Linked DNA regions of Homo sapiens: region 1 is linked to region 2. Evidence: promoter capture Hi-C in 16 types of primary human blood cells and fetal thymus (Javierre and others, 2016). All regions are on one chromosome and are shown on one strand. Each heading gives the region's core, a stretch centred on a gene start or on the middle of the fragment in contact. The rest is flanking DNA. Distances are from core to core; before and after follow the strand shown.

Evidence for each region. The method cuts DNA at HindIII sites, captures the fragments that hold promoters and counts their contacts. A CHiCAGO score of 5 or more calls a contact.
Region 1: the fragment with the promoter of CACNA1I here is called in contact with a fragment that was not itself captured in region 2 in 1 of 17 cell types (erythroblasts); the score reaches 6.2 in erythroblasts.

The regions. Positions count from the first base shown.
Region 1 is chr22:39,568,942-39,574,525 of GRCh38, forward strand. CACNA1I (calcium voltage-gated channel subunit alpha1 I) reads left to right here and starts at 1,812. Exons shown (of 37, transcript NM_021096.4): 1 at 1,812-2,047. The coding sequence starts at 1,812. The HindIII fragment of the contact is 9,228 bases long and covers 1-2,726 here.
Region 2 is chr22:40,365,139-40,370,373 of GRCh38, forward strand. It overlaps ADSL (adenylosuccinate lyase), which reads left to right. Exons shown (of 13, transcript NM_000026.4): 13 at 1,298-4,229. The coding sequence ends at 1,384. Among named protein-coding and RNA genes, the nearest start is that of SGSM3, 2.8 kb to the right of the region's middle. RefSeq lists an enhancer at 5,142-5,235. The HindIII fragment of the contact is 1,399 bases long and covers 1,192-2,590 here.

The DNA.
Region 1 (5,584 bases), core at 562-3,061, 800 kb before region 2:
GTGGGCACCAGGGACGTGGACCCCATCTCTCAATCCCACGGCTCAGACTGGCCCTGTAGGGGTTCTAGGATCCCAGGGACCCCAGTGGACAAAGTTTTAGGGACTAGTACCCTTTGGGGTGAGGTGGTGAGGGGCAGGCCCTGGGAGTGGCTGTCCGTCCCATCTTGCCATTGACTGGTTGCGGAGGCTCTCGGCCAGCGAGGGCACCATCAGTTGTCATGAAGCCCGCCTGGGGGTCTGGTGCTGGGATTCTGGCCTCTCAACACCACCTAGTGCTTCACTTGGCTGGGTGCATAGCCTTGACAACCCGCTTTGTTCTCTTGGCCTCAGTTTCTTCACCTGCCAAATGGGCATAATAGTCCTCCTGAGGTTGTTGTGAGCATCAGACAAGGCCAGGGAGTAGAAGTGCTTTGAGTTGGAGTCGGAGCCAGCAAGATGATTTGCATCACCTAGAACAAAATGAAAATGTGGGACCTCTTGATAAGCAATTAAGAATTTCATGTTGGTGACAGAAGAATTCTAAAGCAAGTTCAGGGCCCTTCTGAGCACGGGGCCCTGTGCAGCTGCCTGAGCCACAGACCCAGGAAGCGGGCTCTGACCGGAATTCTTTTTTTTTTTTTTTTTTGGTGACAGAGTCTTGCTCTGTTGCCCAGGCTGGAATGCAGTGGTGTGATCTTGGCTCACTGCAACCTCCACCTCCCGGGTTCAAGTGATTCTCATGCCTCAGCTTCCCGAGTAGCTGAGATTACAGCGTGTGCCACCACACCCAGCTAATTTTTGTATTTTTAGTACAGATGAGGTCTCACTATGTTGGCCAGGTTGGCCTCAAACTCCTGACCTCAGGTGATCCACCCACCTTGGCCTCCCAAAGTGCTGGGATTACAGGTGTGAGTCACGTGCCTGGCCTTTGACTGGAATTCTATTTCTGCTGTTACTCTGCTACATGTCTGTCCTGTCCCTTCTCTGGGCCTCGGTTTCTTCATCTGTAAGGCAAGGAGGTTAGACTCTAAGATTCCTGGGTTCTCAGCCTTGTAAGGCAGTGGCTGGGAGGTCCCTGGGTCAAGGGCTCAGCTGTAGGTCTCAGCTCAGGGGTTACTTCCTCAGGGAAGCCAACTGTGATTCCCTCCTGGCTTGCCAGCGTTCCCCCAGTCTCTGATTCTGCAGCACCCCAACATTGCCTTTGTAACCTGCATTGTCCTGGCAATAATGTCTGTCTTTACAATCACCTCTTTTTTCTTGCAAGTTTTCTTTACCTTTGATGGTGCAATAAATACATAGCTCTAGTCTTGTAAAAAAGTTAAGATCCCTTCCTTCCTTCCTTCCTTCCTTCCTTCCTTCCTTCCTTTCTTCCCTCCCTCCCTCCCTCTCTCCCTCTCTCCCTCCCTTCCGTCTTTCTTTTCTGTCTATAATTACTTAAACATTTTTTCTCTTAAATAATGAAAGATTTCAAATACAGAAAATTGCCAATAGACAAAAAAAAAAGAGTTAATATCACAATTATATTCTAAGAAGGCTTTATTCTCCCCACTATCTTCGTTTGCCAAAACTGAGGCTCAGCCAGGGTGAGCAGACTTGCCCCATGATCACCCAGCTTGGAAGCAGATTCCAAGTTGGGTGCAGCTGGGCCCTCAGCTGTTTCGTAATCCTCATGCAAGAGTGAGGGTGAGGGGCCTGTGGGGCTCAGGTGGGGCTGTCAGAGCTGCATCCGTCCACTTATTGGTGGAGAGGCAGGTTGGGGAGCATGTACCAGGCCTGTCCCCACCACGTGCCACCCTCTCTGTCTTCCCCAGGGCTCCCAGCTCAGTGTGGACATGGCTGAGAGCGCCTCCCCGCCCTCCTCATCTGCAGCAGCCCCAGCCGCTGAGCCAGGAGTCACCACGGAGCAGCCCGGACCCCGGAGCCCCCCATCCTCCCCGCCAGGCCTGGAGGAGCCTCTGGATGGAGCTGATCCTCATGTCCCACACCCAGACCTGGCGCCTATTGCCTTCTTCTGCCTGCGACAGACCACCAGCCCCCGGAACTGGTGCATCAAGATGGTGTGCAACCCATATCCTCCGCAGCCTCGGCTGATCGGGGCCCTGCAGGGGCTGAAGGGTGGGGGGCTGGATTGAGTCCTGCTGCTCACACCTTGCTCCGGCTGGGAGACCTGAGGTCTGCGGTGAGGCCACTGGGCCTTGGTGGTGGTGAGCGAGCTCAGAGGGTGGGTCTGGGGAGACCTCAAATGGATGAGGACCTGGTGTTCTGCTGATGTGAAGGTTCTGGAAGTTGCTGGTGGCTGTGGGGTCAGTCCAGTGGCTGGCTGGCTCAGAAAGTCCTTGAGTGTGGGCCCCAGACCTGTGCTGGGCTGGGAATGCAGATCAGTCAGACTCTGGAGCCACCTGATGGGCCGTGACCATACAGAGGATGGGAGCCGTGATCAGGAACTGTGGGCGTGGGCAGCGGGGCAGCCGATCCCAACACACAGGGCAGGACTCATTCTCCTTACTGTGCCTCCGAGCAGCCTCTTCCCAGGCCTCCTGCCTCCACTTGCTGCCTCCAGTGGGCTCATGTTCCCCCTGCTTAAGACTGTCATGATTTGCTATGGTCCTGGAGGTGCAGAGCAAAGTCCTAATCCAACCCATCAGGGCCTGTGTGTTCCACCCAGCCTCACTTCCCACCACTTGGCTTCCCCCCTGTGCTCTTCTGAGCCTCAGGGTCCTCTCACTGGCTCTTCCCCCTGTCTGAAAAGCTTTTCCCTTCCCCCTGGACCTGGCCAAATCCTTTGCTACATCCTTAAAATCCCAGCTTAAGCATCACCTCCTCAGGGAAGCCCTCTGGGATTCCTCCTCTGCTTCATATCTAACTGTCACATCTAACTGTGGAATTCTGAATCTAACATTTGCCTCCCCTGGGGTACTGTCAGATGACTGGGATGGGGACCCTAGCACCTGGCACAGTGCTTGGCACATCGTGGGTGCTCTGGCAGTGTTTGCTGGGTGTACATGGGCAATGCCAGAGCTGACTCCTCAATAAGGAAGAGCGTTGGTTGGGTAGAGAGGGTAGTGGGAGGCAGGAGGAGGGCATGGCAGGAGCGAAGCCTGGAGAAGGGAGGAGTTGCAGGCAGTGTTGGAGCCCTGAGGGGCAGAGAGGAGTGAGGTGAGGCTGCAGGTGTGGCGGGAGCCCTGCAGGGCCTTGGAGGCTGCATGAGGGATGGGACTGTGCTCCAAGGGCAGGATTTGAAGCAGGGTCTGGAGAGATCTGTGCTCTGGAAGGACTGTGTGGCACTGGCTTGCAGGGTGAAGTGGGGGCTGGGGACCACTGAGGAGGAGGCTTGGGGACCCAAGCCATGGTGGCCTTGTGGTTTGAGGGTCCCACCAAAAAATGCCCATATGTGGCTCGAGGTTCTGGTGCTTGTGGCCACACAGGGCAGGGTGCGGGGAGCTGGTGGGTCAGGTGCAGGCCTGAGTCCTGCCCTGGAATCCAGGGATGCCAGATGCAGGCTGGGATGTTGAGACTGGCTGCAGGACTGCCAGGCTTCCCTTCTGTAGGGGGCTGAGGTGATCGTGGGCCCTGGATCCCCCTAACTTTTGGAAACCAGCGGGTCTCTGCTGGAGTGGGATGCAGAACTGGGTGTTCCTTGCTGGGTGGGGGCTAAGAGCCTCCCTGCTCCTTCTGGGGGACGGCTCACAGCGTCTCAGGCTTGGTGAGAGGGTCTGCTCGGTAATTAGTTCACCCAGCACTCACTGACATCTGCCCTGGGACACTGAGGACAAAGAGGCAGAGCTGGTGTCTGTCCCAGGGAGTGCCCGGGGAAGAGGGAAGCAGGGACCACCCATTTGGCTAGTTTTTTTTTTTAGATGGAGTCTCGCTCTGTCACCCAGGCTGGAGTGCAGTGGCGCGATCTCGGCTCACTGCAACCTCCGCCTCCCAGGTTCAAGCAATTCTCCTGCCTCAGCCTCCCGAGTAGCTGGGACTACAGGCACCCACCGCCATGCCCTACTAATTTTTGTATTTTTAGTAGAGATGGGGTTTCACCATGTTGGTCAGGCTGGTCTCGAACTCCTGACTCGTGAACCGCCTGCCTCGGCCTCCCAAAGTGCTGGGATTACAGGTGTGAGCCACTGTGCCCAGCCTACGTGGCTAGTTTTAATACAAAGCACTGGGGAAACCTCAGGGGCTTGTGGCATGTGAACAGAGGAGTGCCAGGCCTGAGAAGGGGGCGGCCGCAGGAATTTTGGGCCTTTAGGAAGAGAAAGGCTGGTAGGAGGACCAGGGGGACAATTTCACAATGTCTCAGGGGCCTTTCCTGGGTGAGATGACAAGAGTTGATTCTGGCTCTGTCACTTGGGTGCTGTGTGACCATGAGTAAGTCACTTTGCTTCTTTGAACCTTAGGGGGTCTGGATGGGCAATACTGCTCTGGGCTGGAGGCAGGGGCATGGCTCAGAGGACTTGGCCTGGGAGTCTGACCCAGCTGCGTCTCTGATGGGCTCTGGCTGGGCTGGCTGGGGTGCTGCCCACGTGTCACGGAGAGGCCCCTAGATGGGGGTGGTCAAGTCCTGTCTGCCATGTGTGTGACCCTGGGCAGTCTCCTCTCTCTGAGCCTCAGCACCTCCACCTAAAAAGGAGACGGCAGACGAATCACCCCTTCCAGCCCTGGGAGCCCAGGGTGTTAGCCACACACGCCATGGGGGCTGCCTTGATCTCAGGCACCCTGACGCCTGACCACTGAGTGAGCCAGCCCCTGGGAACCCACCCAGTTTTCCATATTTCTGGCCTGTTGGGCAAACAGAGTCCTTGGGGCCACTGTCTCCTTGGTTTTCACCACCCCTCTCACCTCCATCCTCAGGTCATGTGGGTTGTGGCCTGGGGTTGGAGACAACAGTGGGGCTGGCCCAGGAGGGAGAGGAGTACTGGTTTCGGGAGGAGCTGGGCCTGCCTCTTGTCTGTCTTGGAGAGAGCCCTGGGTCCAAGGGGTGGGGCAGAAAGCAGCCCCCCTCCATCAGGAGGGACTTTTCAGTCCCGGGAGCTGCGCAGAGCGAGGGTTCCCCCGGCATCCCCATGGCCAGGGCTGCTGAGGCTGGACTGGGATAGAGGTGGTTCAGGTCTCGGCCTTAACTGGTGGGATACGGACTCTCTTCAGGCCAGAGATGTGGCGACTCAAAAGCACAGCAACTTTAAAGGTGTCAGCTCTGGGACACTCAGACTGAAAACTTCTGCGACAGTCTAAGGGTTCAAAGTTAAGATTTAAGGCTCAGCGACACTGAAATTCTAAGCTTCTGTCATTCAAAGGCTGCAAAATTCTGTGTTTCAAAGAGTGTGTGAGCCTAAGACTTGGTGGCTGTGATGCTGTGTGCCTACGAGTTGGAGGATTCTGGACCCGGTGGCTGCAGCCGCTGCTGGCCTGAGAGTTCATAGCTGAATTGGGTCAGGTGGGAGAGGGGCCAAGGAGGGTTCCACAAACAGAGACCCAGGAGACGTGGCTGTCCATAGGGCTGTCCCCTGGAGCAGAGACTCAGTCGTGGGGAGCTCAGGGTGGGCTTTAGGGGCTTGGGATGGGGTGCGTGTGTGGGTGGGGCAGGGGCTGAAGCCTCTAGGATTCTTTC
Region 2 (5,235 bases), core at 641-3,140:
GGTGGGAATGGGCTAGTTAGAAGAAAATCAGAGCAGGTTGCTGGCTAAAACTTAGATATTTCGGTTTTGTTTCTGTTTTGTTTTGTTTTTTTGAGACAGAGTCTCTCATCCAGGCTGGAGTGCAGTGGTGCTGAGTGCAGTGGTGCTGGGATTATAGGCATGAGCCCCCACAACTGACCAAGATACCGCTGTTTTGAGCTGCCTTTATTTCTTTGTGTAGATTTTTTGGAATTATCTTTTGGTCTTGAGAATGTGGTATAATGGACAAAGAATTAGGTTTTATTGTCAGGTGGATCTGGGTTAAATCGTAACCTCTGGCATTTACTGGCTGAGAAGGTAAAAGTAAATATCTCAGTGTTGTAATGATTGAAATGCCTGAGTATATACTAGGTGCTCAGTATGTGTTCAGGTACTGTATTTAATTCTGGGGATTTTAAAATGAATAGATAGGCTGGGCGCAGTGGCTCACACCAGTAATCCTAGCATTTTGGGAGGCCGAGGCAGGAGGATTGCTTGAGCTCAGGAGTTCAAGAACATCCTGGGCAACATGGTGAAACCTTGTCTCTACAAAAAAATACAAAAATTAGCCAGGTGTGGTGGTGTGCGCCTGTAGTCTCTGCTACTCAGGGCTGAGGCGGGAGGATAGCTTGAGCCTAGGAGGTCAAGGCTGCAGTGAGCCATATTCATTCCCTTGCCCTCTGGCTTGGGTGACAAAATGAGATCCTGTCTTAAAAAAAATACAAAGATGAATAGATAATCCTCATCTTCAGAGAGCTCAAAACTTAGTGGTGAATACTTGTAAATAGGTCATTATGATACCAAGCAGTACGTGCAAGGACTGAGGGCTAAAAGACTAAAACTGGAGGTAGGAGACCAATAAGGAGGCTACTGCAACGGGCCAAGCAGTAGATGATGAGAGCTTGAGTGAAGGCAGTGGTGAGAGACACAGACCGGGGAGGGAGAGGAGGTTAAGCTCTTGGTGGCTACTTGAAGAGGGCTGGGAAGCAGGAGGAAAGAAGCTGTGGTGATTTTTAGGTTGGATGGAAATGGTGAAACCACCTGAGAGAACACAGGCTGGGCCAGTTTGCGGGAAAGGTTGGTGAGCATGTGGGCATGGTGGTTGAATCATCTGTGTCTAGGCAGAAATTCCTGATAGGCAGTTGAGGAAAACAAGCTCAGTGTTGGAGTAAAAGCTTCATCAAATTAGGTTTCAGTGGTATCCCCTGACATTGGAAAAGGTATTATCTGCTAATATCTTAACATTTTCTTTTGTCTTGTATTTGCTTTCCTCTGGCAGGTGCAGAGATTCTTAGAAGAGGAGGTGTATCCCCTGTTAAAACCATATGAAAGCGTGATGAAGGTGAAAGCAGAATTATGTCTGTAGAGTTGGAAGAGAATTAAACGAAAATCATTGTTAATTGCTGAGGCATGAAAATTGTGTTACTATAATGCCTTATTTTACCTCGAGAATTGTTACCTTAAATTAGTACAGCACTTTCTTCTTCCCATGGTGCTTTCCTGTTTCTCAGTCTCACATTTCTCAACAAGGCAAAAACAAAGAGCGTTGAAGTTGACTCTGCTCTTGCATAGTAAATGTAGTTCATACTTGATCTCTGTTCTTTCAAGGCATATTTTCCAGCTGCCTCAAGTTTAGTCCTTTTCACGTGTTCATTTGCTTGTAAAGTAGCAAGAAATTTCTGGTCCTGTCTTCTAAAAGTGAATTTGATCTAGGTCTAGCAAAATAACCTGGACTCAGTGATTGAGTCAATGGTCAGATACCTTTTATTTCGGTTATTTTTGGCTAGTATAAGTGATGAAGTTTGGAACTACAGTAAATACTTAAAAAAAAAAAAAAAAAGAACCAAACCCTGATGTGACCATCAGGCTGATTGAGCTGAAGTTGTGCCCAAGCTCATTTCATCTTTTGATAAGGCTTATACAGCAGGGAAATGCTAATTGAGTATATTGATTTCATCAGGGCCGCTGACAGTCTTTATTCCTTGTTGCATGGATTTTGTTGTTGAGGCTTGCTCTGTCACCCAGACTAGAGTGCAGTAGCACAATCTTGGCTCACTGCAACCTCCGCCTCTCAGGTTCAAGCGATTCTCCAGCCTCAGCCTCCCAAGTAGCTGGGATTACAGGCGCCTGCCGCCATGCCTGGCTAATTTTTGTATTTTTAGACGGGATGGAGTTTTGCCATGTTGGGCGGGCTGGTCTTGAACTCCTGACCTCAAGTGATCCGCCCATCTCAGCCTCCCAAAGTTCTGGGATTATAGACATGAGCCACCACACCCAGCCTAATCTTGTTTTCTTTTTTTACTTGTTTACAGTGTAAGCAAGTGCCATTGGACAAGAACGTTGTCTGTGTCATTCCTTGTTGTATTTCCAATAGCAAGAGCACATCAGATACTTGGCAACTAGGCAGTCTTCCAGCTTCTGCCACTGCGCCCGACTTCCTTGTTGCATGGATTTATAGCTGATTGAAGCAACTGTAGCCAAAGATTGAGTTAATTACCTACCTGCCAGGAGAGCACTAGTGTTATTTAGCCCATTCTCATCCTACATATTTTTCGGCATAGATGAAAATGAAAGCTTTTGTTTATCAGATTTGCAGATGACACAAAACTGGGAGAATTAACAAGTATGTTTATTTGGTAAAATAAGTTTTCATCTCTAACCTAAATCGGCTGAAATGATGTGTCCTAAACTAGAGGAAAAAGTTAATAAAGATCAATGTAAATAAGTTAATCTTAAACTCAGTATGCACCAGAACTGAGAGAAGACTGTTTTAGGAGGTGTTAATGGTTGTCCAGTGCCCAAAAAGCCACCAGAGGCTTACTGCTCCGCACTCTTGGCATTACATTCAATTTTGGATACCCAGTCTGAGGAATAGAGATGAACTGGAGAGCCAACCTCCAAAAAGATCTTGTGGTGGAGGAATGTTAGGGCTCTTTATCCTATACAGAAGAAAACTCCTCGGCACTTCAAATATTGCCAGGTGCAGGAAGAGTGACTTGATTGTGTGTTGCCCCAAGAGACACACTGAGCTCAATACCCATTACTGAGACTGGCTTGGGGCCAGACATTGGAACCACTGAGATTAGCAACCTACACTCAATCCCCCAGGTCAGGCAGAAGCTGGAAGACTGCCTCGTTAGGAATGTTGTGAGGGAGAGGAGGCTGAATCGGTTCCAGTTTTATTTAAAAGTAGCCAGGAAATCAGGTTGCGATGATGCGCATTTACAGTCCCAGCTACTTGGGAAGCTGAGGCGATAGGGTCACTTGAGCCCAAGAGTTTAGTCCAGGCTGGGTGACAGCGAGCCCTTGTCACTTAAAGCCAACCTAAGAGAAGAGCTTATCCTTTTGGAAAAACAATAGAAGACAATTCTGAAAACCAAATTCTGAACATAGGCTAGTATAGCAAGCAAGCAGGGATAGCATAGAGCCATTTGCTCAACTTCCAGAAAGAGTTACTCTGTTCATCTCTAAAAAATCTTGAAAAGGGCCGGGTGCGGTGGTGGCTCACGCCTGTAATCCCAACACTTTGGGAGGCCGAGGCAGGTGGATCACCTGAGGTCAGGAGTTCGAGACCAGCTTGACCGACAAGGTGAAACTCCGTCTCTACTAAAAATACAATCAACCGGGCGTGGTGGCAGGCGCCTATAGTCCCAGCTACTTGGGAGGCTGAGACAGGAGAATTGCTTGAACCTGGGAGGCAGAAGTTGCAGTGAGCCAAGATCATGCCACTGTACTCCAGCCTGGGCAACGGAGCGAGACTCCATCTGAAAAAACAAAACAGAAAAAATCTTGAAAGGATACTAAGTCTGACACAAGGAAATTAAGTCATGGGACTCTGACCAGATATTCTGTCTACTTCCTTCTCTGCTATGGGCAACTTGGAGGCAGCAACTACTATCAGTTTATCTGTAATGTGAGAATTTATATTACATAACAGATACTGGGGATATAGGATACCATGGATTTTAGTTAATACATTTCCTCATAGAAAATAAGGAAATAACAGTCTTGTTCCTGTCCTAACAATTCTGTTAGACTAATGATCTCCAGTGATTGGCGATTTGACCTGGTTTCTTCCTGGACTATTTGAATGGGTGGATTTGTTGGTGCATCTCTTGTCTTCTTTCCTTTTCCATTCTCCTTTATTTTTGTATTTACATACTTGTATGCAACTTTGTAATCTGATTTTCCCATGTAACATTTTAATTTGATGGGTGGTCTGCGTGTTCACTGGAAAACATATATATATTAAATGTACATTTATGTATATATATAAAATATACATTCATATATATTATATATAATATACATTCATATATATTATATATAATATACATTCATATATCTATCTTTTATATATATATATAGACAAGATCTTGCTCTGTCGCCCAAGCTGGAGTGCAGTGGCATGACCACAGTTCACTGCAGCCTTGATTTCCTGGGCTCAAGCGATCCTCTCACCTCAGCCTCTTGAGTAGCTGGGACTATGGCACACACAACCACACGTGGTTCATTTTTTGTTGTTTTTTGTAGAGACAGGGTCTCACTCTGTTAACCCAGGCTGTTGTATTTTCTTTAAGATTGGTTTAAATTCACACGGACTCCAGCATCAGAACTACCCAGATGTCAGGTTCTGGGCAGAACTTGGGGCAACTGATGAAATGTCTGCTCAGCTGAAGTCAGACACCTGGACACTTAATGCCCTCTTTCCCTGGCTGATGCTCAGTTTCATTTAAGAACCAGGAGAGCCTGATGTTTGTAAACACAGCTTTAGTGGAAGCACGAGGGTTAGGAGTCCCTAGAAAGGTGATATGAAGCCTAGGTGGATGTGAGGGTTGGTGAGATGGGAATTGCACAGCATAGAATCTGACACAGAAGGTACTCAGAAAATTTCGTTTTCCGGCCTGGCGCGGTGGCTCACGCCTGTAATCCCAGCACTTTGGGAGGCTGAAGCGGGCAGATCATCTGAGGTCAGGAGTTCGAGACCAGCCTGGCCAACATGGTGAAACCCCGTCTCTACTAAAAATACTGTACTAAAAATACAAAAAAATTAGCTGGGCGTGGTGGCGGGCGCCTGTAATCCCAGCTACTCGGGAGGCTGAGGCAGAGAACTGATTGAACCTGGGAGGTGGAGGTTGCAGTGAGCCGAGATCACGCCACTGCACTTCAGCCTGGGTGACAGAGCGAGACTCCATCTCAAAAAAAAAAAAAAAAAAA